2 separate regions of the Homo sapiens genome follow, and region 2 is linked to region 1. The links are contacts of gene promoters, found by promoter capture Hi-C in human tissues and cell types (Jung and others, 2019). All regions are on one chromosome and are shown on one strand. Each heading gives the region's core, a stretch centred on a gene start or on the middle of the fragment in contact. The rest is flanking DNA. Distances are from core to core; before and after follow the strand shown.

What was found. Contacts are between HindIII fragments. The study calls those that stand out against the background at their distance.
Region 2: a contact is called between a fragment that was not itself captured here and the fragment with the promoter of C20orf173 in region 1, in 1 of the 25 tissues and cell types used here (spleen).

Annotation. Positions count from the first base shown.
Region 1 is chr20:35,524,675-35,532,232 of GRCh38, reverse strand. It overlaps C20orf173 (chromosome 20 open reading frame 173), which reads left to right and starts at 2,581. Exons shown (of 6, transcript NM_001145350.2): 1 at 2,581-2,674; 2 at 2,809-3,168; 3 at 3,354-3,532; 4 at 3,689-3,782; 5 at 3,949-4,000; 6 at 4,983-5,254. The coding sequence starts at 2,860. The coding sequence ends at 3,975. The HindIII fragment of the contact is 31,043 bases long and covers 1-7,558 here.
Region 2 is chr20:35,906,591-35,914,148 of GRCh38, reverse strand. PHF20 (PHD finger protein 20) reads right to left here. Exons shown (of 18, transcript NM_016436.5): 11 at 802-900; 12 at 1-116. Among named protein-coding and RNA genes, the nearest start is that of SCAND1, 44 kb to the left of the region's middle. RefSeq lists an enhancer at 7,026-7,526. The HindIII fragment of the contact is 7,158 bases long and covers 711-7,558 here.

The DNA of each region.
Region 1 (7,558 bases), core at 1,332-3,831:
TTTAATAGAGACAGGGTTTCTCCATGTTGGTCAGGCTGGTCTCGAACTCCTGACCTCAGGTGATCTGCCCACCTTGCCTCCCAAAATGCTGGGATTACAGGCGTGGGCCACCGCGCCCAGCCCATATGGTACTTTTTCAAAACCTGGAACTTGACGTTGGTATGATATAATTAACTAGCCTACACACCTTACTCAGATATTTGGGTGAATTGATTTAAAAGCTATACAATATCCAGTGCAGCTTTCCACTAGTTAAGATGAAGAATTTTACTGTTCTTATCCCATTGAATAAAATGTTTTGATTTTTTTTAAAAACCAAAATGTTCTGTTTTTTTCTTAAACTTTAAAAACAACTCAAACATTTTCATTTTTTTACTATCTTTACAAGACTACAATTGAATTAAGGGGGTGGCAGTGGAGATGAAGAAGATGACTTAGAAATAGAAACGAATTAAAAAATGGATTTGAGGCCAGACTCAGTGGCTTATGCCTGTAATCTCAGCACTTTGAAAGGCCGAGGAGGGTGGATCACTTGAGCTGAGTTCGAGACAGGGCTGGCACAGTAAACCCCATCTCTACTTAAAAAAAAAAATCAGCAAGGCTCGGTGGCTCACGCCTGTAATTCCAGCACTTTGGGAGGCCGAGGTGGGCGGATTGCTTGAGACCAGGAGATGGAGACCAGCCTAGCCAACACAGTGAAACCCCGTTTCTACCAAAAAAATACAAAAATGAGCCAGGTGTGGTGTTGTGCGCCTGTAGTCCCAGCTACCTGGGAGGCTAAGGCATGAGAATCACTTGAACCTGGGAGGTAGAGGTTGCAGTGAGCCAAGATTGTGCCACTGCACTCCAGCCTGGGCGACAGAGTGAGACTCTGTTTCAAAAATAAATTAAATAAATAAATAAGCCTAGCGTGGTGGCACACTTCTGTAGTCCCAGCATCTTGGCAAGCTGAGGTGAAAGGATTGCTTGAACCTTGGAGGCAGAGGCTACAGTGGGCTAAGATTGTGCCACTGCACTCCTGCCTGGGTGACAGAGTGAGACTTTGTCCTAAAAAAAAAAAAAAAAAAAGAATTTGGGTATCATAGGAGTAGGAGGAATTAATAACACATGAGTTCTGGTTTCAATAACTGGGTACGTGGTGGAACCATTTGTTGAGATAGAGAAGTTTTGAAGCTGGGTGCAGTGGCTCACGCCTGTAATCCCAGTACTTTGGGAGGCCGAGGTGGGCAGATTACCTGAGGTCAGGAGTTTGAGATCAGCCTGGCCAACATGGTGGAATCCCGTTTGTACCAAAAATACAAAAAATTAGCCGGGCTTGGTGGCACGCACCTGTAATCCCAGCTATTCGGGAGGCAGAGGCAGGAGAATTGCTTGAACCCCGGAGGAGGCAGAAGTTGCAGTGAGCTGAGATTGCGCCACTGCACTCCAGCCTGGGTGACAGAGCAAGACTCTGTCTCAAACAAAACAAAAGAGACAGAGAAGTTTTGGGAAGGGTTGGTTTACAGGGAAAATCCTGGGTTCAGTCTCAGGCTTATTCAGGTGAGATGTCTCTGAGCCATCTAAGTGGCAATTCAGTAGGCTGTTGGATATGGGGTCTAGAGACTACAAGAGAGGATTGAGTTGATGTCACACAACTCCAGAGAGGGCATCACACACAAGTATATTTAAAGTTCCAGGCTGGGGCGGGGTGCAGTGGCTCATGCCTGTAATCCCAACACTTTGGGAGGCCAAGGCGGGCGGATCACCTGAGGTCAGAAGTTCGAGATCAGTCTGACCAACATGGGGAAACCCCGTCTCTACTAAAAATACAAAAAAATTAGCCAGGCGTGGTGGCGGGCACCTGTAATCCCAGCTACTTGGGAAACCGAGGCAAGAGAATCACTTAAACCCGGGAGGTAGAGGGTGCAGTGAGCCGAGATCGTGCCTCTGCACTCCAGCTGGGGCGACAAGAGTGAAACTCCGTCTCAAAATAATAATAATAATAATAATAATAATAATAATAATAATAATAATTTAAAAATAAAGTTCCCGGCTGGGCATGGTGGTTCACGCCTGTAATTCCAGCACTTTGGGAGGCTGAGGTGGGCGGATCACTTGAGGTCAGGAGTTTGAGACCAGCCTGGCCAATATGGCGAAACCCTGTCTCCACTAAAAATATAAAAATTAGCCAGGCGTGGTGGCGCATGCCTGTAGTCCCAGCTACTTGGGAGGCTGAGGCATGAGAATCGCTTGAACCAGGCAGGCGGAAGTTGCAGTGAGCCAAGATCATGCCACTGCACTCCAGCCTGGACAACAGAGCAAAAACTCCATCTCAAAAAAAAAAAAAAAAGTTCCCTCTCAACCCCTGTTTATTTATCCCATAAATATTTATTAAATGATTCTAAGTCTTAGAGCTGCAGAGGTGAAGAAGAGAGACTAGGTCAGCCCCTGTCCTCATGAATCTTACATCCAGTGGAGGTCATTTCGGTGTCAGAGAAAGGGTAGGGTGGTGGCTTTTTTCAGGCAGGCTAAAGGAGGGAGGTCACAATGTGTACTTTGTGATGAGATCTATGATATAACTGGGATGACAGCAAGGCCCCCACTGAGGTATTCCTTCCCCTCTCAGGACTAGCCACATGCTGTCTCTCTGCCCTGGCCTCTTCCACCCCATGCCCAGTCAGAGACCGTTTTGAGGGTGAGCAAATGGATAGTGAGGCAGGAGAGGAGGGGTTGGAAGGAGGTGGAAGGTGGTGGGATGGGGAGTTGTGGAGGCCGACAGGACAGAGGGAAGCTGGTGCTGTCTGTGGCCTCAGCCCCTCATCCTTACAGGTAGAGAAGCCAGTCTACGGCCCACCACGGGAGCCACCGCCTGGGCCAGACATGAAGCGCTGGCAGATTTTTGTCCTGTGGGTCTTTTGGGTGCTCATCCTCTGGCTGATGACCCCCTATCTGGATCTGACACCTGAATCAGCACCCCAGGAAAAACGAATGTACTTGGTACCACAGCATTGCGACTGCCCTTGGTTCAGTTCCGGGAAGTGTGGCTGCCCTTCTGAGACCCTCAACTGCTCCTCCTGCCACCACACAGCCGACGAATGGAACTGGCTTGATGCGTGCTCCAGGAAGACTATGGGGTACCTGATGAGGACAAGAGAGTCTATGACCTCTGACACTGTGCTCTGGTGGTTGGTCAGTGGTCAACACTGGGCCCGGCCATATCCCCCATGCTTTCCGGGCCTCACCCATCTCCCACTTTCCGCCCAAATCCCTGCCCTTGGCCCTGTCTTCACAGCCTCTGGATGGAGATCTCACCCACCCAGCTCTGTTTTCTCTCCCCTGGGCCCAGCCCCCAATCTCCCTCTTGCTGTTTCCAGGGCATGAACTCAGGGAGCGAGCTTGGGAAATTGTGGAGGAAGCTGTTTAAAGGGATTCCCAGGCTCTCGGTGAGCCATTTTGATTTCTATTGTGGGACTTGTGTGCTGTTGGGGCGCCCACAGATCCCGCAGGGCTCCAGCCTTGGCAACGACATCGACCAATACCCCGTGGTTTTCAGGTGGGTGCTGGGGAGAGGGCGGGAGCAGGAAGGCCAGGCCTGCCCCACAGTTCCATCAGTTTCTGCTCCCCTTCCCAAGATGAAGCAGGCCCCAAGTCCAGGGCTTTGAGATGGACGTGGGGAACCAAACCACACACAATGCTTCATCTATCCCAGGAATGCCAGCGACCAGGGCTCCTGGATGCAGCTGGAGATGCTACTGCGGAAGCTCTCTGACCTGGTGTGGACTTCAGATGCTCTAAGTGATAAGGTGATGGAGGTGTCCCCAGACATTCTCTGTGTGGGGGTGAGGGGAGGTCACTGCAGGGAGTAACAGCAGGGGCTCTGGGAAGACCTTCTATTGGCTTACTGGGGACACTTGCAGGACTTTCCCAGGTCTTGTGGCCCAAACTCCCCCACCTCCAATTCTTTCTCAGATTTTGGAAGATGGTCTGGTTCCCTAGTGGAGTGGAAGATAGCAAAGACACGGTGAGGGGGAATAGGAAAAGGGGTAGGATGTGGCTGTGGGTTGCTGTGGGAAGGGCCCCAGGTCAGTTCCCTCCCCCTTCCTCCCCAGGTGCAACCAGGACAACTGGCTGTCTTACCAGGGTCAGGGTCATCCCTGGGGCCCAAGGCTTTGTTCTGTGTCTTGCACAACTGTGCCCCGGCAGGAAAGATTCTTGTATCTTCTTCTCTTAAAATTCCTGCTCCTCAATGCCTTCAGCATGGAGTCTAAAGTTTTCTGCCTGGCTTTCAAGACTCTACATGTAGGCCAAGCGTGGTGGCTCATGCCTGTATCCCAACACTTTGGGAGGCTGAGGCGGGTGGATCATGAGGTCAGGAGTTCGAGACCAGCCTGGCCAATATGGTCAAACTCCATCTCTACTAAAAATACAAAAAATAGCCAGGCATGGTGGTAGCCTCATCTCTACTAAAAATGCAAAAAATAGCCAGGCATGCCTGTAGTCCCAGCTACTCGGGAGGCTGAGGTAGAAGAATCGCTTGAACCCGGGAGGCAGAGGTTGCAGTTAGCCGAGATTGCGCCACTGCACTCCAGCCTGGTGACAGAGCGAGACTCCATCTCAGAAAAAAAAAAGACTATACATGTTCTGACTCCTCCCCTTGCCTCCTGTCTCCCAGGCTCCCATAATGGGCTCTTAGAATTCCCCAGACACATGAGCTGCCTCATGCCTTCTCTCGCACCATTCCGTTTGCCTGGAATGCCCTTCTCTTACGTCCTGGGGGTTCCCCTCTCTTCCTCCAATACCATGAGGAAAAGTGAGTTGACATTCTCTTTTTTGGGATCCTCAGTGACTCTAGGAGAGTGTCCAGAGTCTGTTTCCTGGAGGTGAGCTCCAGTCTCCTCCCAGCTCCCAGGGACAACCTGTCATCCTAGATGCTGAGTGAAGGGAGGCAGGGGTGAGGACAGGAGTCTGCCTGCTGACGCACATGTCCCTCTCTTATCCACTAGGTCACCCTCTTTGGATTTGGATCAGAATAGCAAGGAAAGTGTTTCTATCACTGGAAGGAGGATAATCAGACCAAGGGCTCCAAGGAAATACTGCCCACGTCTAGTGCAGGAGCAGAAATCGAAGTCATCCATCAGCTAGCGTGTGGACAAGCTCACTATTCACACAAGCTCAGCCTAGCTGAGTCCATACAAATCCTATTTCTGGGTGGGTAAAGGGCAGGAGGAAATTGTAAGATCAGTCTGGTACTGAATAAAATCCTGGCCTGATTGTCTTACCTGTAACCACAGTGTCTGGGAGGGATGGGCCAGAGGTGCCTTCCAGATCTCAGGGGCAATATTTGAGTTGATTTCTTTGCCTAGTGCCCTGGATCATGTAGGAGGTATAAGTTTAGATTCAATTTCATGCCAAGTGCAAACCCAGACTTTGAGTTGTTGGGGGAGGCTCTTTACCCACTTCGATAAAAGAAGTAAACCTCCTTGTTTCACCCATGCCGGAGGGTGAGGGTTGTTTTTTGTTTTTTGTTTTTTTGCCCAGCTTTTCACAGAAGGTTTAGCATTTTGAGGTTCCCAGTTTTTTTAGGTGCCTCAGTTCCAATTCGCTTTTTTTTTTTTTTTTTTTTTTGAGACAAGAGTTTGCTGTGTTGCCCAGGCTGGAATGGAGTGGCACAATCATGGCTTATTGCAGCCTCGACCTCCTGGGCTCAAGTGATCCTCCCACCTAAGCCCCCTGAGTAGCTGGGACTATAAATGCATGTCACCACACCCAGTTAATTTTAATTTTTGTTTTTGTAGAAAGGGGGTCTTGCCATGTTGGCCAGGATGGCCTTGAACTCCTAGGCTCAAGCAATCCTACTGCCTTGGCCTCCCAAAGTGCTGGGATTACAGGTGTGAGTCACTGTGCCTAGCACTTACCGTGTCACTTCTGCAGCATTCCATTGGTCAGATCAAGTCATAAAGTGATCCAAGATCCAAGAAGTGGGGAAATGAACTGCTCTTCCTAATGGAAAGAGCTGAAGAGAATCTGCCATAATGAGACTACCACAGTGTCAAGGGCCCAGTTGTGTTGGCAGCAGTGGTGGCATTCCAGGTGGGCCATTCCTGGGGTAGTCTTTGGCCATGTTTTGCATCTCATGATAGACTGAGCCTGGTTCTCTAGCTTTTGCATCATCCTGTAAACTACTAAATATTTAGCCGGCGAATTGTTTTTCTCTGAAGTTTACCAGTCTGTTGACCAAGACCAAGAATCCAACTGCTACAGTTAACAAAGAATAAAAAATCAGACTTTTGGCTGGGCACAGTGGCTCAGACCCAGCATGTTGTGAGGCTGAGGCAGGAGGACTGCTTGTGCCTGGAAAATTTCTGCATAATTCACCCCTTAATTTGCATGTAGTTAAAAGTGGGTATAAATAGGATTGCAGAGCTGCTGCTGAGCTGCTAACTCTGGGCACACTGCCTATGGGGTAGCCCTGTCCACAAGAAGCAGTGTACCTCTGCTGCTGCTGTGCAATGCTGCTTCAATACAGTTTGCTAACACCACTGGATCGCATCAGGGCAAAGCCAAGAACCCTCTCAGGCTAAGCCCCAATTTTGGGGATTGCCTGCCCTGCATCAGAGGCATCACTCCAGTCTCTACCTCCAACTTCACATGGCATACTCCCCTGTGTCTTCTGTTTCCAAATTTCCCTCATCTTTTTTTTTGAGATGGAGTCTTGCTCTTGTCACCCAGGCTGGAGTGCAGTGGCATGATCTCAGCTCACTGCAACCTCTGCCTCCCAGGTTCAAGCAATTCTCCTGCCTCAGCCTCTCGAGTAGCTGGGATTACAGGTGCCCGCCACTACGCCTGGCTAATTTTTTGTATTTTAGTAGAGACTGGGTTTCGCCATGTTGGCCAGGCTGGTCTCAAACTCCTGGCCTCAAGTGACCTGCCTGCCTTGGCCTCCCAAAATGCTGGGATTACAGGCATGGGTCATCACGCCCGGCCAATTTCCCTCATCTTATAAACACACTAGTCATTGGATTAGGGCCCATTCTCATCCAGCATGATCTCATTTTAATTTCATTGTATCTGCAAAGGCCCTACTTCCAAATAAGGTCACATTTATAAGTATCAGGGGTGAGAACATAAAGATTTTTTTTTTTTAAAGTAACACAATTCTACCTCCTGCAAGCAGAATAATGGCGTTTCTAGACATGCAAACTTAGAATGTTTTATCTCCTACACACCCTTTCTTAGAAAGTTACCACGAACAAAAGGCCGGGCACAGTGGATCATGCCTATAATCCCAGCACTTTGGGAGGCCAAGGTGGGTGGATCACCTGAGGTCAGGAGTTCGAGACCAGCCTGACTGATATGATGAAACCCCGTCTCTACTAAAAATACAAAAATTAGCCAGGCATGGTGGTGCACGCCTGTAATCCCAGCTACTCAGGAGGCTGAGACAGGAGAATTGCTTGAACCCGGGAGGCAGAGGTTGCAGTGAGCCGAGATCATGCCATTGCACTCCAGCCTGGGCAACAAGAGCGAAATTCTGTCTCAAAAAAAAAAAAAAAATTATCATGAACAAAAAAAGGTAGTC
Region 2 (7,558 bases), core at 3,040-5,539, 380 kb before region 1:
CTGCGGGCTCATATGGACCCCTGGCTTGTGTGAGGACCCACACCTGGTAACAGCAAATGCCTTGGGTGGAGAAGGTTCCTGGGAGGTGTCACTGATCTCCTCACTGCAGGGGCATTCTGGAAGAACAGGATCAGGAAGGAATGAATAACCCTAGTTAACACTGGTGCATTCTAGAATCAATCTCATCCAACCAACAAGCCTCCTTTTCAAGCAGCACAAAGGCTCAGGGACAATTCAACCAAAAAGAGGTGTGGAGAGCAGATGAAGGGGCCCAAACACCTCCTCTTAAGTATTGACCCTCTCCTCTTTTTCTGATAAGATTGTTTTTCTAAGCTAGAAGATACACCAAGAATAAAACGTGGCATCCTTTAAGTCCCAAGTCAGAATATATAGATTTTTCTAAACATTTTTGTGAGGGCTAGACACAGTTTTTAAGAAGGGAATCCTTTCTCAAGAGGGCTCAAAGATGTGTTTTAAGAGTCGTGTGTGTGAACAAATACCATCATTCACCTGCACATCTGCTTACACTTCGATGCCTTCATCTGTACCATCCTGCAGCAGGGCACACTGGCCAAGGCAGCAAGTGAGAAGGCTTTTCAATGCCAGCAGGACTTTGTAACACCTGGGTGAGTGGATGCCTCCCCTTCCAGGGCCCATACTAGGTTGAGCCCACAAGCCCTGGTAAGAGACTATTGGTCCTTCCTCTGCTCAGCGCAGGCCCAGAGGCCATAATGGGAGAAAGCAACCCCTCCCCATTCATAGTAAGGAAACCTAAGTGAAACCCTCAGGAAAAAAAATTACCAGGTTTGGTTTTCTTTTTCTTTTTCTTTTTCTTCTTTGGCTTCACTCTCACAAACTCCTTGAATTTCTTCTCTTTATTCTTTTCCTTGTCTTTTGTAGCTAGAATTAAACACAAATGTTGGCATTTTAACATTTTGTTTTCAATGCTGGGGTGCTTATTCTTCTCCTAAGCAAGCATGTCCGATGGGTCTGGCTCTGCCTGGGAAGTCTGGAGCAGATTGCTCCAGTCTGGAGGCAGAGCCACGCCTCCATCACTTAGCCTTTCAGTCCAGCTCAGCACACTCTGGCCCATGGCCCGTCATTGTAAATGGATTTTAGTGAAACATGCCATGTTCATTGGTTACGTGTCTTTCACACTTCAACAGCAGAGCTGAAAAGTGAGGACAGAGACCTTTCAACCCCAAGGTTGAAAAGTATTTATTATCTGGCCCTTTACAGACAAGTTTGCAAAACTCTACTTAGATCACTGCTCCTCAACCCTGGCTACATACTGGAATCACCTGGGGATCTGATTTTTGTTGTTTTCATCGCCATGTCACCCAGGCTGGAGTGCAGTGGCGCGATCTCAGCTCACTGCAACCTCCGCCTCCCGGGTTCAAGCGATTCTCCTGCCTCAGCCTCCAGAGTAGCTGGGACTACAGACACACGCCACCACACCTGGCTAAATTTTGTATTTTTAGTAGAGATGGGGTTTCACTATTTCGGCCAGGCTGGTCTTGAACTCCTGACCTCAGGTGATCCAGCCGCCTCAGCTTCCCAAAGTGCTGGGATTATAGGTGTGAGCCACCGCATCCAGCCAGGATTCTGTTGCTTGTTTCATTCTTTTTCTAAAAATTGAGGTACCATTCATATAACATAAAATTATTTTTAAATGAACAGTTCATGCCTTCTAAATACCAAAACTTTATCCTCTCTACTCTACAACAAAACTCCTTAAGATGTCAATCCTCCCTGTCCAAACTTCTCCCTTCACAGTTTTTCCTAATTACATTCTAAAAAGCTTCCCACCTACCACTCTACTGAGATCAGTTTTCAAAATTAATAGCTTCACCATTGAAAAATCCAGTCATTGCTGGGTGCGGTGGCTCACGCCTGTAATCCCAGCACTTTGGGAGGCCCAGGCGGGCAGATCACAAGGTCAGGAGTTCAAGACCAGCCTGACCAACATGGTGAAACCCCGTCTCTCTAAAAATACAAAAATTAGCTGGGTCTGGTGGTGTGTGCCTGTAATCCCAGCTACTCAGGAGGCTGAGGCAGGAGAATCGCTTGAACACGGGAGGCGGAGGCTGCAGTGAGCCGAGATCATGTCATTGCACTCCAGCCTGGCGACAGAGCGAGACTCCATCTCAAAGAAAAAAAAAAAAAAGAAAGAAAGAAAAATTCAGTCGTAGCCGGGCACGGTGGCTCATGCCTGTAATCCCAGCACTTTGGGAGGCCAAGGCAGGTGAATCACCTGAGGTCAGGAGCTTGAGATCAGCCTGGCCCACATGGCAAAACCCCGTCTCTACTAAAAATATAAAAATTAGTCAGGCGTGGTGGCAGATGCCTGTAATCCCAGCTACTTGGGAGGCTGAGGCAGAAGAATTGCTCGAATCGGGGAGGCGGAGGTTGCAGTGAGCCCAGATCGCACCATTGCACTCCAGCCTGGGTGACAGAGTGGGAATCTGTCTCCAAAACAAACAAACAAAAAAATCCAGTCGTTTCTTCTTCTCTTACCAAATATATTTATAGGATTTCAAGTAATTCACCATGCCTTACTTTTTAGATATCAACAAGAGTTTATACGTACATATATCCTATGACCTTGCCATCCACTACAACATATTCATTCAAGAGAAAGCATCACTTACGTCCACATAGAGACTTATACATGAAGACTCATAGCAGTTTTAGTTGTAATCGCCCCAAACTGAAAACTGCCCAAATGTCCATCAAGTGAATGTACAAATAATTCATGATGTATCCACACAATGGAAGACTTTTCAGCAATAAAGGTAGGAACAGCAGGCCGGGCGCAGTGGCTCATGCCGGTAATCCCAGCACTTTGGGAGGCCAAGGCGGGCGGATCACGAGGTCAGGAGATTGAGACCATCCTGGCTAACATGGTAAAACCCTGTCTCTACTAAAAATACAGAAAAAATTAGCCGGGCGTGGTAGCGGGCGCCTGTAGTCCCAGCTACTGGGGAGGCTGAGGCAGGAGAATGGCGTGAACCCAGGAGGCGGAGCTTGCAGTGAGCTGAGGTCTGGCCACTGCACTCCAGCCTGGGCGACAGTGCAAGACTCCGTCTCAAAAAATAAAAATAGAAAAAAAGGTACGAACAGCAACATAAGTGAATCTCAAAGTATGCTGGGTGAAAGGAGCCAGACAAAACAAGTGCGCACTGCAGGATTCCATTTCTACAATAGTCTGCAAAATGAAAACAAACCATCTGGGCATGCTGGCTCACTCCCAGCACTTTGGGAGGCCAAGGTAGGCAGATCAGCTGGGGTCAGGAGTTCAAGACCAGCATGACCAATACGATAAAACCCCATCTGTACTAAAAATACAAAAATTAGCTGGGTGTGGTGGCTCATGCCTGTAATCCCAGCTACTTGGGAGGCTGAGGCAGGAGAATCGCTTGAGCCCAGGAGGCAGAGGTTGTAGTGAGTTGAGATCGTGCCACTTCACTCCAGCCTGGGCAACACAGCGACTCCATCTCGGGGGGGAAGAAAAAAGAGAGAAAACACACCACAAGTAACAGTAAGCAGAATAGTGGTTGCCTGGAGCTCAGGGGGAGGGGAGAGGTGGGAAGGAGGAACTAAAAAGGGGCATGAGGAAAGTTTGGGAGGGAATGGAATATGTTTACTATCTTGATTGTGGTGATAGTTGGGTATAAACATATGTCAAATCTCACCAATTATACCATTTAAATATGTGTAGTTCATTGTACAATTAAGTCTCGATACAGCTGTAAAGAAAAACAACCAATTCAGTTGCATTTAGTACATTCACAATGTTGTACGACCACTTTGATATAGTTCTAAGAACATTTCCATCACTCCAAAGTAAAACCCTTTACCATTAAGCAGCATTTCCCCTCCCCTAAGCCCTTCCCCTCAGCCCCACCAACCTGCATCTGACTCCATGGGCTTATCTACTCTGGATATCTCATAAATATGGAACCATACAATATGTGACCTTTTGTGTCTGGTTTCTTTCATTTAGCATGATGTTTTCAAGGATATCAGGATTTTTAAAACTTTCCAAGTGATTCTGATATGGAATCAAGATATCCACAAAGCAGGTGTGAGGCAGGGTAGACAATCAGATTCCATTTTAACTAAGCACTTGTGTGCAAGGAAACCACAAATATCTCATTTAATCCTTACAACAACTTGTGTGTATATCATTCCCATTTTACAGGCCGGGAAACTGAAGCTCAGAGAGGTGAAATCACCCACCTGACATCACATAGGTATTTAAAAGCAAATTGGTCTGACTCTCCAGCACCATGTCTCCTCTGCAACCCAGGCCCCTCTCCCAAATTAGCACTTGGTAACCATCAGAAAGGAAGAGTGGGCTGTGCCTACTGGCTGGCAAGCCTGGAATCTATAGGCAGAGTTGATCTACTGGCTAGAGAACATAGGACTTAAGGGTATTTGAGCTCCTTAACTTTTAAAATACCCTGCAACTAGAAAGAAAGTCAACAAACATGAAAGCTGGAGAGAACTTAGACCAATTTGTAAAAGCACTCATTTTTAAAACCAAAAACCCAAGGCCCAAAGACAGCAGACTGGCAAAACATGGTCAGATGCCTTCTGAATTTCAAAAAAGCTATCAGTCATTTTTACTTTTCATTGATCCTGAGAACAGGGTCTTCCCCAAACATAAAAACAAAACTCATTTTTACACAGTTTGACTACCACCGTATTATTAGCCATGGTTTCAATTCATTTAGGCAACAGATACCATGCATATACTATGTTCCAGGCACATTCTAGGGAGGAGGGATATTGCAATGAACAAAGACAGATAACACCCCCTGTCCCTCACAGAGCTACATTCTATTCAGTTGGTGCAAAAGAATTGCTGTTTTTGCCACTGAAAGTCACAGCAAAAACCACAATTACTTTTGCACCAACCTAAAAAGCTGATGGGGCAGCAAACTATGAATAGGAGGGAATTTCCTCAACTGGATAAAGAACTTCTTTGCAGCCAACTTCATACTTAATGGTAAGAAATTGGATGCTTTCCCCTTAAGATCAGGAACAAAGCAAGGTGCCTCTCTCTCTACTCCTATTCAACATTTTACTGGAAATCTTAGCGAGTGGAATAAGCCAGAAAAGGAAATAAAAGCTCTACAGATTGAAATGGAAGAAATAACACTATCTTTGTTTGCAGATGATCTGTCTATGTAGAATATCCCAAAGAATTGATCAAAACAAAGACTGCCAGAACAGCACTTACAGCAAGGTTACAAGACACAAAGTTAATATACAACAATCTATTGCTTTTCTATATGCCAGCAATGAATAACTGGAATTTGAAATAAAGAAATAGCAAGGAGATCTGTATGGCTCCAATGGAACTGAAATTAGAATTAGGTTGAGTAAGGGAAAGAAGCAGATGGAGGCTAGCAGCAGAACATGATGAAGGGCCCTGTGAGGAAGTTGGCTTTTACTATGAGTGATTTAGGGAGCCACTGGAAGGATCTCAGCAAAGGAGGGATATTATCTGTTGTACCTTCACCCACACTCCTCCACAACACACACACAGACTGCTCCCTGATCCAGTTTTTATTTGTAAATTCAGGTTTTAGTGACCTCCAACTAAAGTAATTATACCCATCAGCTTAGTGAAATGCTAACAGAATTTATCTTGTCAGCAGCAGAACTGCCTGAAGCAGCAACATAATCTAGGTCCTAAATCCTTGAGACAGAGAGGGCAAGATGTAGAGGAAAACTGCCCAATGCTAGGGCATACCTGGTTATCTGGCTAAAGATAGTGGTCATTTGTAAACTCCAGTGGCAGAACTTGCAGGCCCTAGAAAAGACACAGAGAATTGCCCAGCAAGGACTGAGCTAAGGCAGGTGAGTCCCTGAGGAACAGGAGTAGACAAGGTGACAACAGGCAGAAATCCCCAGACTGCCAGGTGCACAGGAAGTCTCCTGCAGGGAGGCACTCCTATCTCCCACTCCAGGGCCTGGGACAGGCACTCTTCCCTGGAATCATAAAAGACAGCAGAGCCTCAAAGTGAGAGTATGGGCTTCACAACAGATTCAAATCATGGCTCCACCACCTGCTAGAGCTGTAAATATTGGTTCAAATTAATCCATCTCATCTGCACCTTAGTTTCTAATCTATAAATTAGGCATTATAGATGCCTAATATGCCAACATTAGAGCATCCAAATTCTTAAAACAAGTACTTCCAGACCTAAAGAAAGACTTAGTCACATAATTTTAGTGGGGGACTTCAACACCCCTCTGACACAGCATTAGAAAGATCATCGAGGCAAAAAACAAAGAAATACTGGACTTAAATCCAGCAATGACAAACTATACATTCCACCCATCTGCAAATGGCAAATAATCTAAAATTGACCACATGCTTGGCCATAAACCAAGTATCAGTGAATTCAAATCATTGAAATCATATCAACCACACTCTGAGACCACAGTGGAATAACTGCATAAATTAGGCATAACAGCACCCACCTCAGAGGGTTTGTTCTGATAACTAAATAAGACAATACAAGTAACGAACTTGGAACAGCGCCCAGCACATGAAGTACTCAAATGTCAGCTGTTATTATCTTGCTTGCAATATTCTTTCCCTGGAAAGCAGTGCTGGTCGCTGGTCTGCTGTCAACTCTCTCTCTGGACAGCTTTACCAATTGTTCCATGACCCACAGAGCATGTACTGGCTGTGGAGCTTCCTCCCGGCTGCCCTGACTAGGTTGGACAAAGAGTGACTTCCTGCCAGGCTCTGGATCAGAGAGCAGCTTGTCACCTAAGCAGGGTGAGGCTTTCCTCCAGGATGGCCACTTGTCCTCTCCCCAAGCTGCAGGTGTCCATCAGGAGAAATACCAGAGGCCCTCTTGCTCCTCCATACAGCTGACTCTTGAGTATTCCATCCAGTCACTGATTTATGAGAGCAGAGGGACAACTGTCATCAGACCGCCGCTTCCAGGAGGGAAAAGAATAGCATCACCACCACCTATGGGGTAACTGCTTGTACACCACAGAGCTCAGCCACGAGGCTGGGACAAGCACTGACCAGAGCATGTTCTGATCTGCACAAGGGGGTGGTAGCTCAAGGGCAGACAGAAGCAGATATGGGCTTGGAGGGGTTCTCTCTGCCTATCAGAGAAGTGGTAGTCAGGGTCTGCCACTGTCATTTCACCATGTCTACCTTCCCAATCTCATCTCCTATCAGTCCCCTACCATGAGTCCCACCCAGATACCAACCCAGGATGGCCCTCCAATAACCCCTCCCTCCTCAAGCCCTGCATTCTTCTTAGCTCATGTGGTAAAGGCTGCAGTGCCCTTCCCAACACTATTTCTCCACTTCTTCCATAGGAAGAGTTCATGTTCCATGTTCCCTTGAGAGAGGGGTGGCAGATGTTCTGCCTATCGGATACAAGAAGTGATGTGTGGCACTTCTGGGTTGTGCCTTAAAAGAAAGGAGCATACTTTCCCTTCACTTCCCTTCCCAGCAGCTGAAAGATAAGCAAGGCAGGGAGCCATTTTGGACACCAAAGAAGAGCAGCACCTG